Linked DNA regions of Homo sapiens: region 1 is linked to region 2. Evidence: promoter capture Hi-C in 16 types of primary human blood cells and fetal thymus (Javierre and others, 2016). All regions are on one chromosome and are shown on one strand. Each heading gives the region's core, a stretch centred on a gene start or on the middle of the fragment in contact. The rest is flanking DNA. Distances are from core to core; before and after follow the strand shown.

Evidence for each region. The method cuts DNA at HindIII sites, captures the fragments that hold promoters and counts their contacts. A CHiCAGO score of 5 or more calls a contact.
Region 1: a fragment that was not itself captured here is called in contact with the fragment with the promoter of ACADL in region 2 in 10 of 17 cell types (activated CD4 T cells, megakaryocytes, total CD4 T cells and 7 more); the score reaches 7.9 in activated CD4 T cells.

What each region holds. Positions count from the first base shown.
Region 1 is chr2:209,982,815-209,987,775 of GRCh38, forward strand. UNC80 (unc-80 subunit of NALCN channel complex) reads left to right here. Exons shown (of 65, transcript NM_001371986.1): 61 at 2,042-2,098. Among named protein-coding and RNA genes, the nearest start is that of RPE, 17 kb to the right of the region's middle. The HindIII fragment of the contact is 466 bases long and covers 2,326-2,791 here.
Region 2 is chr2:210,222,834-210,228,012 of GRCh38, forward strand. It overlaps ACADL (acyl-CoA dehydrogenase long chain), which reads right to left and starts at 2,614. Exons shown (of 11, transcript NM_001608.4): 1 at 2,354-2,614. The coding sequence starts at 2,430. The HindIII fragment of the contact is 4,947 bases long and covers 1-4,316 here.

The sequences.
Region 1 (4,961 bases), core at 1,309-3,808, 240 kb before region 2:
GAGGTTTGCTAAAATGATCTTTAAGATAACTTCTCATCTATAGTTCTATGATTCCATGACAAAACCCCTTTAAATATTTTGTGTGTTCTCTGTCTCTTAAGAATATAAGTAAAAAAAAACTTCCCATGTATATATATATATACACACACACACACACAATGAAAGTATAATGAAAATGATCTCACATGAGTCAAAACATTTATCTTAAGTAGATAAATGTTTTGGAACCAATGATATTTTCACTTTAGGAATTGAGTTTTTCAAGGAATTGACCTTATGTGATTTTAGTGTGTTGCTTATTTTTAATACCTATAGATTCATTGTAGTACAATTCAGACATGGAAAATAATAAAATTCAGGGCATATTCTGATGTTCACATAAAACCAGTTTATATGTAGGAATAATTACCCTGTACCCAAATCCTTTCGCAAATGGTTCGTGAACTACACAGATGAAATAAAATTTGTGAAATAAAGCCCAAGTTTGGAGAATATCAAAGAATAGGGTAAAATGATAAATCATTAATAAACAAGTTGCATACTTTTTAAGAAGGCAATGTTTTATATAAGTACCATTTAATTATTACGAAGATTAATACTATATAAAGGTTTGTATCATTGTAAGAAATTGTTTTACCTACCATTTGGTAATTTTCCTTTGAAAAGAAAGTCTTATACACAAAAAGTGTGAACAAAATCAAAGCCAAACAATAACATGTCCTAAAAAAGATATAAAGCCACACAAGCAGCTAATATTGGTAGCTATCAGTTATTTTTAATTGCTAGCAATGTGCATGGTTCTATGAAGAATATTTTTAAAAATCAATTATTTGAAAGTTTTATTTAAATTATAGAATTGTAGAAATTTCATAAAGAGGTTTTTCATTGTTATTTACCTAAAATAACCAGGCCATCAATTTCCTTTTTACATATTCATTAAGGGGTCAAGTTGTTTGCAGGGAGAAAATTTGTCCTATTATACATATCTTGATTGTACATTTTCTTGATTTCTAGAAATCAAGAAAAAATAATATAGTTAAATAGTTTGGGCTTCATTCATATTTTGGAAGACTAGCGAAGGTAATAATACTGTCTCTGTACATAAGGGAAAGTGAGTCTCTTCCTAGGGACAGAGGCTGTTTTTATAGTGAACTTTTAGGTGAGCCTCAATTCTTTGGGGCCAGGCACTCCAGTTTTCTAAATGGTTTAGTTCTCTCCAATTTAACGAGTATTTATTGCCTCACAGATGCTTAGCTCAATGCTAGGCACTGAAGGAAGGACAGATAAAGCATGACAGTTTCTGTTCACAAATCTCAGTTCAGCTACATACATATCAATCAATCGATAAACAATTTAATTATTCTCTCACCAACCTGACAGGTTTCTTCTTTTGGCATTTACAATTCAGTCACTAGAGGATGGAGAGTAAGGAGGTAAATGCGAGTTCCATGTGAATTTTCTAAGATATCTTCCTTCCGTTTGTTTACTTGCATTTTCACTGCAAAATTAGCAGGGAAAGTTGTGTTCTTTCTTTACTTTTCTTAATGGCATCAGTTCCAAGAGCTTGGTTGTGGCAGTTCATGGTAAGTGGTTTCTGTGTGCTAATGTTAGAATGCACAAGAAAGAAGCAGGGTCCTGGTCAATGAAACACCATGTACATAAGACAGGTTAAAAATAATCACCACCTAGCCAAATGGTTACCAAAGGAAATGGTAGTTTCATCTTCTACAGATTCATTCTGCAATGTGTTTCAGAGCCTATGGGCCCATTCGGAGTTCATTTTAACTCTTGACCAATAAATAGGTTACTCCTCTGAGAGTTGTATCCATCCAAAGCCCTTCCTCCCCCATTGCCTTGAGTCCTATGTCTTGACAAACCCAGCACAAGGTGAAATGGTTGACTGTCTCCTTTTCCTTCCTTGTTCGGTTAAATCTATTTATTTTTGGTTCTTGGAAGCAGAAAATTGCATGCCTTTTTTCTTTTTTCTTTTTTTTTTTCATTTTCTTTCCCTAAATGCTTCATCTCCCTACCCCTCCTGCAGTGAACCTAATGTCCTCGATGACTCCCAGGGCCTGGCCGCCGAGGGCAGCCTCTCTAGGTACAGTGTCAATGCTACCTGTCTATTGGTGTCTGTGCTGGGAAACTAGCTGTTCCCTGTCTCCTCTGTCTCTCTGTCTTCTCTGTCTCTTCTCGCCCCGTCTTAATATCTATTTCCATTCCTTGCCCTTTGTTGTTCATGAACATATGAGCCTGGAAGTCAAAGGTGTAGCAAACCCTCCTTCATTTTCAGCTTCAGAGCTCAATGTCAATCAAGTAAGCCTGAAAAGCTTACTTTAAAAAAATTATAGAATTCTTTATGGGGCATTTCCCACGGATGTCTAAAAAGTCTGGTATGCCAAATGTTAAATTTATCCCATCTAATTATTCCCTCCCACACTGATATTTATTAAGAATTGTTTTTCAGAGGCCCTTTAATACATCATCAAGAAGCCCCTTATTAAATCAAGACAGGTCTTTTAGCTAATACCATTGATTGTAAGAAAATAGACAATGATGTTATAAAAAGAATAGTAATGTGGATACAATTTATATACTATAATTCCTTCTCTTTGATGCATGCTATTGGGCAGACTTCTATAGTAGCTTGTTCCAGCAACACTTATACAAAGAATGTCTGTTCTAGCACAAAGGTGACTCCAAAACTTGCATGAAATATCAGACACAAACAGTTCTTGGTAAGTAAGAGAAGTCTTATGATGCAAATAATGTAATGTCTTGGCTATTGGTTTAAAGCTTCAGAAAAGGGGACTGCACCTTTAACACTCAGATAAACCACGTCAAACATTCCTAATCTTGTGCTGTTGATTCACACCTCTCAACTAATCCTCATTAGGGGTAAGGCTTCTTGTTCATCCTTAGAGTATCTTTGTGCCATCTCAAGAGATAACATTCCCTTTCAGGTTTGCACTATCTAGTGAGTACAATACACCCGTGTTTATTGCTTTATCACAAAGATGAGGAAATGTTGAGAGGCTGTTCCTGTGAAAGGTTGTCTTTTGTTTTCTTTGCATCTTGTTCAGATTTCACATTTTCTTTTGCAATTGAAAATGGGAAATTTAGTCCATCATCGGGTGTATTTTTTTTTTAACCAGACCCATAATTCATGACATTCGTGTTTGCCAGCCCTTGCCTTGACAGATCAGTCTCTTATTGGTGGTAAATGTGGAAGTGCTGCAGAATGCAGACTTAATTCCATTAGCAGGAGCTTTGGGGGCAAGGAGGAAGTTGAGAAACAAAACAGTCCTCAAGAGGGCTTCCCTTTATTCACGGTGTTGGAAGAGATCTGAACCAAGTCTAGCAGAGTGTTCATTCTTTCAAAGAAAGCAGGTATTTAATGTTTAAAATTACATGTGTGATGGGAACCTTGATTAGAAGACAATTTCAGTGGCCTACTGAGAGTAGAGAGTATTGAATCAGACTTCCACTTAGCTAGCTTTGTGCTGGGGCTTTTCTAATTAGGCCAAATTCTACTCTTGATGAGTAAGGATTGGTGAGAGAAGGCAGGAGTTTGAGATTGTTTTTATGAACTCTCCCAAGTATTTGGCCCTCTCTGGTAGGCTCAGGGTTCAGAGGACCTATTTGTAGTTTTCTAAACCAATTCAGTGTGTCCTGGTTCCAGTGTCAATGGAAATATACACAAAGTTTTTGGTAGGTGAGACTGGTTCAGAGCCAAAGCTATTGATTTGTCTACAGCTGAATTAGTCAGTCATGGTAGTACTTTGATGACTGTCTTAGATCAACTGCCGTTGATCCGTTGTTTCTGTGACCATTGTGTTTTAGTTCTGGGTGTGAGTCACCCAGACCCAGTTGTGGTCATTAAGAAATGGGAAGATGAGGCATTCACTTTGGCTTCTGAAATAATTCTAATAGCACAGAGGCTTTCTACCAACCAGTAGCACATCCACCTTTGCCATACCCTGCAAATTGTATCTCTTGAACTACATCACGTCACCAAGTTCTCTTTGGAGGAGAGGAACTTTTGGCATTTACTAGGAGGTTGGTTTACAAAATAGGATATATACTTTTTATATTTAGTTTCCAGACTTTCTTATTTTTGGCATGAACTTCCTTTAAGCTGCAGACTCTTAAAATCCTGAAGTAGTAAGGCATTAACCAGGTAATGACGCTTAACATACACTCCAACACTGAGGACCTAAAATACACCCAAAGTAGTCCTGATGAAAATCTGGCCTTAAAGCTTAGAGAATATCAGGAAGCATATCTAAGGGAAAATAATAAACTCTGCTGCTCCCATGCTCTTACAACATTTTACCAAACTTGCATGAGAATTTCCTTTTGAAAGGACATTTGTTTTAGACAAAAGGGGTAAGTTGGATGGAGTGGGCTAAATAAGGAAGAGACCAAGATAACCTGATGAATAGGTGGAAATCAATAAAAATTTGCCATACCTATAGAAAATTACTTCTAGGATTTTTTTTTAAATGTGCTAACTGGTTTCTTTTAGATTCATCCCCAGAAATAGCCTATTAGAAACACTATGCTTTGCAGAAAAGATTCTTTGTATTGGAAATTAATAAGATGAAATCATATTCCATGGGAGAATTCTCTTCTCTAGAGACTGTTGCTCTTAGAGATATAGAAATTCATTGTAGATGTTCCTTCTCTGTCTCTGCCGTGAAACACGCACACATATCCATGGACATGTTTTCTCTCCAGAAGAATAGAGACATACAGAGGCTATTCAAGAACTTATGGCCAGATGTTTACACCAAAGAATTAGATTTTGGTTGGACATGTTAGAACATTTTGAAAGGCAGAAATTGACAGTCAACTCTAATTTTTTTTTAAAAAAAGATTATAATGCTACTTGAATTTGCAAGGATACTTTTAATCACAGTGAAAAATAAAAATGTTTGAACAAGACTATATAGTCTAGGTGA
Region 2 (5,179 bases), core at 1,364-3,863:
TAACATCTACTTTATCCCTATAATGGAAATGATCGGCTCCTTTTTCTTGCTAGTAGAGATAAAATTATAAAGCACGTATTTGTCCATATAGATTTTCCATACTTGAGAGTTTCCCTCAGGAAAAAAATATGCTGAGATTAGGAAACTGGGGCTGTAAGACACCGAATCATTTGTCAACATAATGAGTAAACAATAGAGCCAGAATTTAAAATCGAGTCTTACTGGATCTTAAAATTGAATAGCCTGTACTGTGTTAAGGAAATCTCTGCAATATTTTTAAGTAAAATATATAAAGACATAGGAAAGCAAAAGAAATGCCAAACGAATAAAGACTTTCAGGTCAGTCAAAGGTGGTCAAGAGAGAATATGCAGAGGGAAGAAAATCAAAACACTTGGCAGCAAGTTTATTGCAACATGTATTTCTCAGTCTAAAGATGAAGAAATCTGTAATGGAAAAATTGGCATTTTTTTCTCTAAGGCAATAAACTGCAACTAATCTTATTGGCTAGGCTATTATTGTTTTTTTAAAGTCTCCTACATTTTAAAAGGGAGACAATCTCCACCAGCACCTTCCACACACCTAGAAGCTGGTTATAAATACACAATCTCAGGCCCCATCCCAGACCCACTGAATCAGAAGCTGTATTTTAACAAGATTCCCAGGTGATTCCTTTGCACATTAAAGGTAAAAAAGCTGTTACAACAAAACTGTAGCCCCCCAGCCCATTCAGAGGGTCTCTCAGGTCTCCCTTTTTCCAGTGTTCTCTATTTGAGGGTAGATTTTCTTGCCATGCTTCAATCAAACTAACTTACGCCAATGGATAAAACAGAAGCAGATATAGTTATCTGGTTATCTTCTATTATGCCAGACATTAAGGGAGTTGTAAAAATGTAAAACAATGTCACTCTTTTCACTTTTTTTCTGTTTAGGAAAAGTTATTTTTCATAAAAACTGTTATTTATGTTAACATGTAATGAGCTTCTTATTGTAACTTTTAAATAAACTAAATATCTGTAAAGTTTCTCAGTTATGTAGATACCTTTCGATAACGACAGACGGATAGATATAACCTACATAAACAAAAGTCCTTTGAGGTCCTGTTTAAGAGCATAAGGGAGCCCTGTTATCAAAAAGTTTTGAGGCAGCACTTTGGGAGACCGAGGCGGGCAGATCACGAGGTCAGGAGTTTGAGCCCAGCCTGGTCAATATGGTGAAACCCCCGTCTCTACTAAAAAGATCAGCCGGGTGTGGTGGTGCGTGCCTGTAGTCCCAGCTACTCAGGAAAGCTGAGGCAGGAGAATTGCTTGAACACGGGAGGCGGAGGTTGCAGCAGTGAGCCAAGATCGCGCCACTGCACTCCAGCCTGGGCGACAGAGTGAGACTCTGTCTCAAAAAAAAAAAAAAAAAAAAAAAAGTTTGAGGATCACTGTCTTATAATGTTCCAAGGAAGAGTTAAGTATGTATCCTAAAGAAAAGTCACCTTCTCAGTGACGTCTTCCCAAATCTCCCCAGGAAAAGTAGGCATTTTGTTTCATAGCTCTCAAATAAAATTAGAGTAGCTTACACCAATGCTGTCATTCGCAAATTTGCCAGTTCCTTCACCCTTATTAAATAATGAATTCTCCATGCTTCCAATTTGTTTACCCAGTGAATAGATTTTATGCATCAGACAGTATCTGAAACTTTTGATCATATTATAAACACCACCTTAGTAGTCACTGAACTACTTAGACTCTGTCTTCATTAATCCTCTGTATTTAGTTAGATTTGTTGATATATCTAAAGCTAATTTCCTTGTTTGATGGAACCCTCGCCAGGTCATTTCTAGCCCAGTTTGTCCTGGACAATTCTGGTCCGCGCCGCAGCCCGGGCACTGAGTCCGGGTCCCAAGTTCACTACCGCGCGGCGAGTCTAAGCCGTGGGGAACGCCGGGTTCACAGCTCGAACTGGGACACAGATCGCAGCCCGCGCTCCTGCAGCCGGGCCCAGGGGGTGACCACCTCCTCCCAAAACGCAGGCTCCCGGGTCCCACTGCAGGCCGCTGAACTAGACGGGTTGGATTGGGGCTCCGGAATGAACTTCTGGAGAAATCTTTCGGCTTTCCCCGACGTGGGCTCGGCGGTCTGTTCTCGGGGCGGCACGGCTGACACCCCTTTTTCCTCCGCCCAGATGCTGGTTGCACCCAGTCCGCGGGATCCAGGAAAGGAGGCCAGCTCTAGCCCGGCGCCGGAGTTGGGGAGCACTCCCAGCCGCGCGCGCACCGCCCTGCTTCAAGCCAGCGACAGGAGTGACTCGCTGCCCCACCCCACAGCCTCCCGGCCTGCAGCCGCGGAAGTCCCGGCTGGCACTCACCGCGCGGCGGGCAGCTGGCGCGGCGCACGGTGGCCGCCCAGGACGCGTAGGGACCCTCGGAGAAGGCGTGCGGCCATGTCCGAAACACAGGGGCGGCGGGGCGACGGAGGCGACTCTGCGGCTACTCGGCGACTCGGGGCAGGGTCCCCGGGAGGGAGGACGATCAGCTGAGGCGTCCACCTGTGGTGTCCTCCCAAAAAAGCGCTCGCGCGCGCCCTTCCGGAGCCCCAACCACGCCACAGGCTGGTCGCGAGGGAATACGCCCGTCTTGGCTGTCAGCAATAGGATTTTACAGCGAAACTGCTGCCTTTGCTTGCAGCATTCTTTCTTGTTTATCGAAGCAGCTCTGAGCCTTTTTAGCGTCCTGAAGCGCTTTGAGTAACGGATGAAAGCTATGGAGCCCCCAAATACGCGCAAATACCTAACCATAAAAATGTACGTGAAGTTTATTTTGTAACCTTGGAAATTGATTTACTTAAAGTAGGCTGAATAGTTTGAGCAAACCCTTGAAGGTGATAGAGTTAGCCAGGCATAGCTCTGGGAGCCCATGCTATTTATTGGTAATAGCAAGTAGAACGAATTAATCCGACACAGGATTTAGTAGAGACAGGATTTCACCGTGTTAGCCAGAAAGGTCTCGGTCTCCTGACCTCGTGATCCTCCCGCCTCGGCCTCCCAAAGTGCTGGGATTACAGGCGTGAGCCACTGCGCCCAGCCCGTTCTGTTAATTCTTAAATGTCCAAGTTCAAGTACATCCGTTGAACAATTACTCTCGCCCTCAGTGACATTTCAACTAATAAAAGCATGCCCTGTAGAACTCTCAGGTAAAAGATGTGAAATATCCCTCAAGGGAAACATAAATGGCTCAAAGGGTTCATGAAATCCTGGGTGATTGGCTTAAACTATCTGGGTAGTTTGCTTGACTTTTCATTTAATTTTAGCACAGCTAACTCTACATTCATAAACATATTTGTTCTTACTTCACAAAAGGAAACTCAGTAGAAAAAAACTGATAAACATGCTAACCAAATGTGATTCAAATTAACTTCACCAAGAATGGAACAAACTAGCATTAGAGACACCTGTATTGAAAGGAACACCACATTATTTATATACTGTTGGGAAAAAAGGCTGAGGGTTGGGAAGAAAGCTGAGGCAGGGCTTGCATGACTGACATAATGTCCTCTGGAATGTGTCTAGACTTGCTGGCTCCTTGCTTTTAGCCCTCCTAGGCTCCTATTCCCATTATCTCAAGTAGCAGAACATGTTCCATACAAATGTAAACCTCCATTTACTCACCTGTAAATGAAGAATAACAATATCTATGTCATAGGGTTGTTGGAAAGATTTTTCAGATAACGGAGGTCAGGTGGTTGGCACAAAGACAGGAATACAATAAACATTCGATAAATGGTAATTATTATTGTCATCATTGAGAAATACTCATATTTTGTAGTAGATAAAAGAAAGAACAAATCCTTTAAAAAAACCCTCTACTTTGTGTATTCCAATGCCTATTCAATTAGAAGGCAAATGTTCAAGAAAAGGAACTGCTTATGCTTTTCCTCTGATACCTGGTAGTAAATGTCATGGACTACACGGTCCTTTCTAAACCCCATGAAAATGCCAGCTTCTTTAACCCAAATAACTGCCTGTGTCTGTATCTGTATCTGTATCTGCCTGTTTATAAATGTATAAAAAGTGAGTGATTAGAAATTATATATATATTTTTATATTTGGTTTGAAGAATACCTTGATGACATAATTGAGAAACTGAAATTGGCATCTGTTAAATGTGTCTGAAATATTTTCTTTTCCCTTATAGAGGACAATGGTCTCAAAACTAGTTACTGTTTTATGTTTTGGAACATTTTCTTTAAAAAAATAAATAGCAATTTAAGTATCTGTAACCAACAATTTTGACAGTAAACTTTATTGTCAGGATTAAGAATGGATTTGTTTAAGCTTCCAACTTCAAACCCTAATCTGCTTCTAAATTGCTTCTCTATGAGCCATACCTATAATATAATATGACCAAAATATTAATCATACACATTTATAAGGAAAAACTGCTCAAAGTAAAAGAAAAGTTATAAAATTTATCTTCTAGGGCTCTCCTTTTTTTTTTTTTTATAGTCATTGTATACAGAGCTCATTAGAAAAAGTATTTATTTATTTCCCCTGGTGCAAAGCAAAACTTATCTAATCAAATATAGAAGTGTTGCATAAGTTTTAGTGCATTACAGTCTTAGACTAAAGAAATCTAAGCATCTGTAATTCTGTAATATAGATCTTGGACAATGTCACAAGGATGATTGCTAAACCATTTTGCTTGCATAATACAGAATTATTCCTCTTCATAGCTGATTTGTATTTAGGGTAAGATAAGCCTTCATGGGAAGATTTTGCTGGCAATACATGCCCTTTGCCATAGTAATTCCACCTGGTCTCCATTTAACAATCTTTTAAGGCCAGACACGGTGGCTCACTCCTGTAATCCCAATACTTTGGGAGGCCAAAGCAGGTGGATTGCTTGAGTCCAGAAGTTCTAGGCCAGGCTCTGGGAAACATGGCAAAACCCTATATCTACCAAAAATTAGCCAGGCTTGGTGGCCTATGCCTGCAGTCCCCGCTACTCAGGAGGCTGAGGTGCAAAGATCACCTGAGCCCAGGAGGTCAAGGCTGCTGTGAGCCGAGATTGCGCCATTGCAGTCCAGCCTGGGTGACAGAGTGAGACCCTGTCTCAGAAACAAACAAACAGAAAAAAACAAAACACAACACTTTTAGCTTTATTTGAGTACATAGGTTTAACATTATTTCCATAGA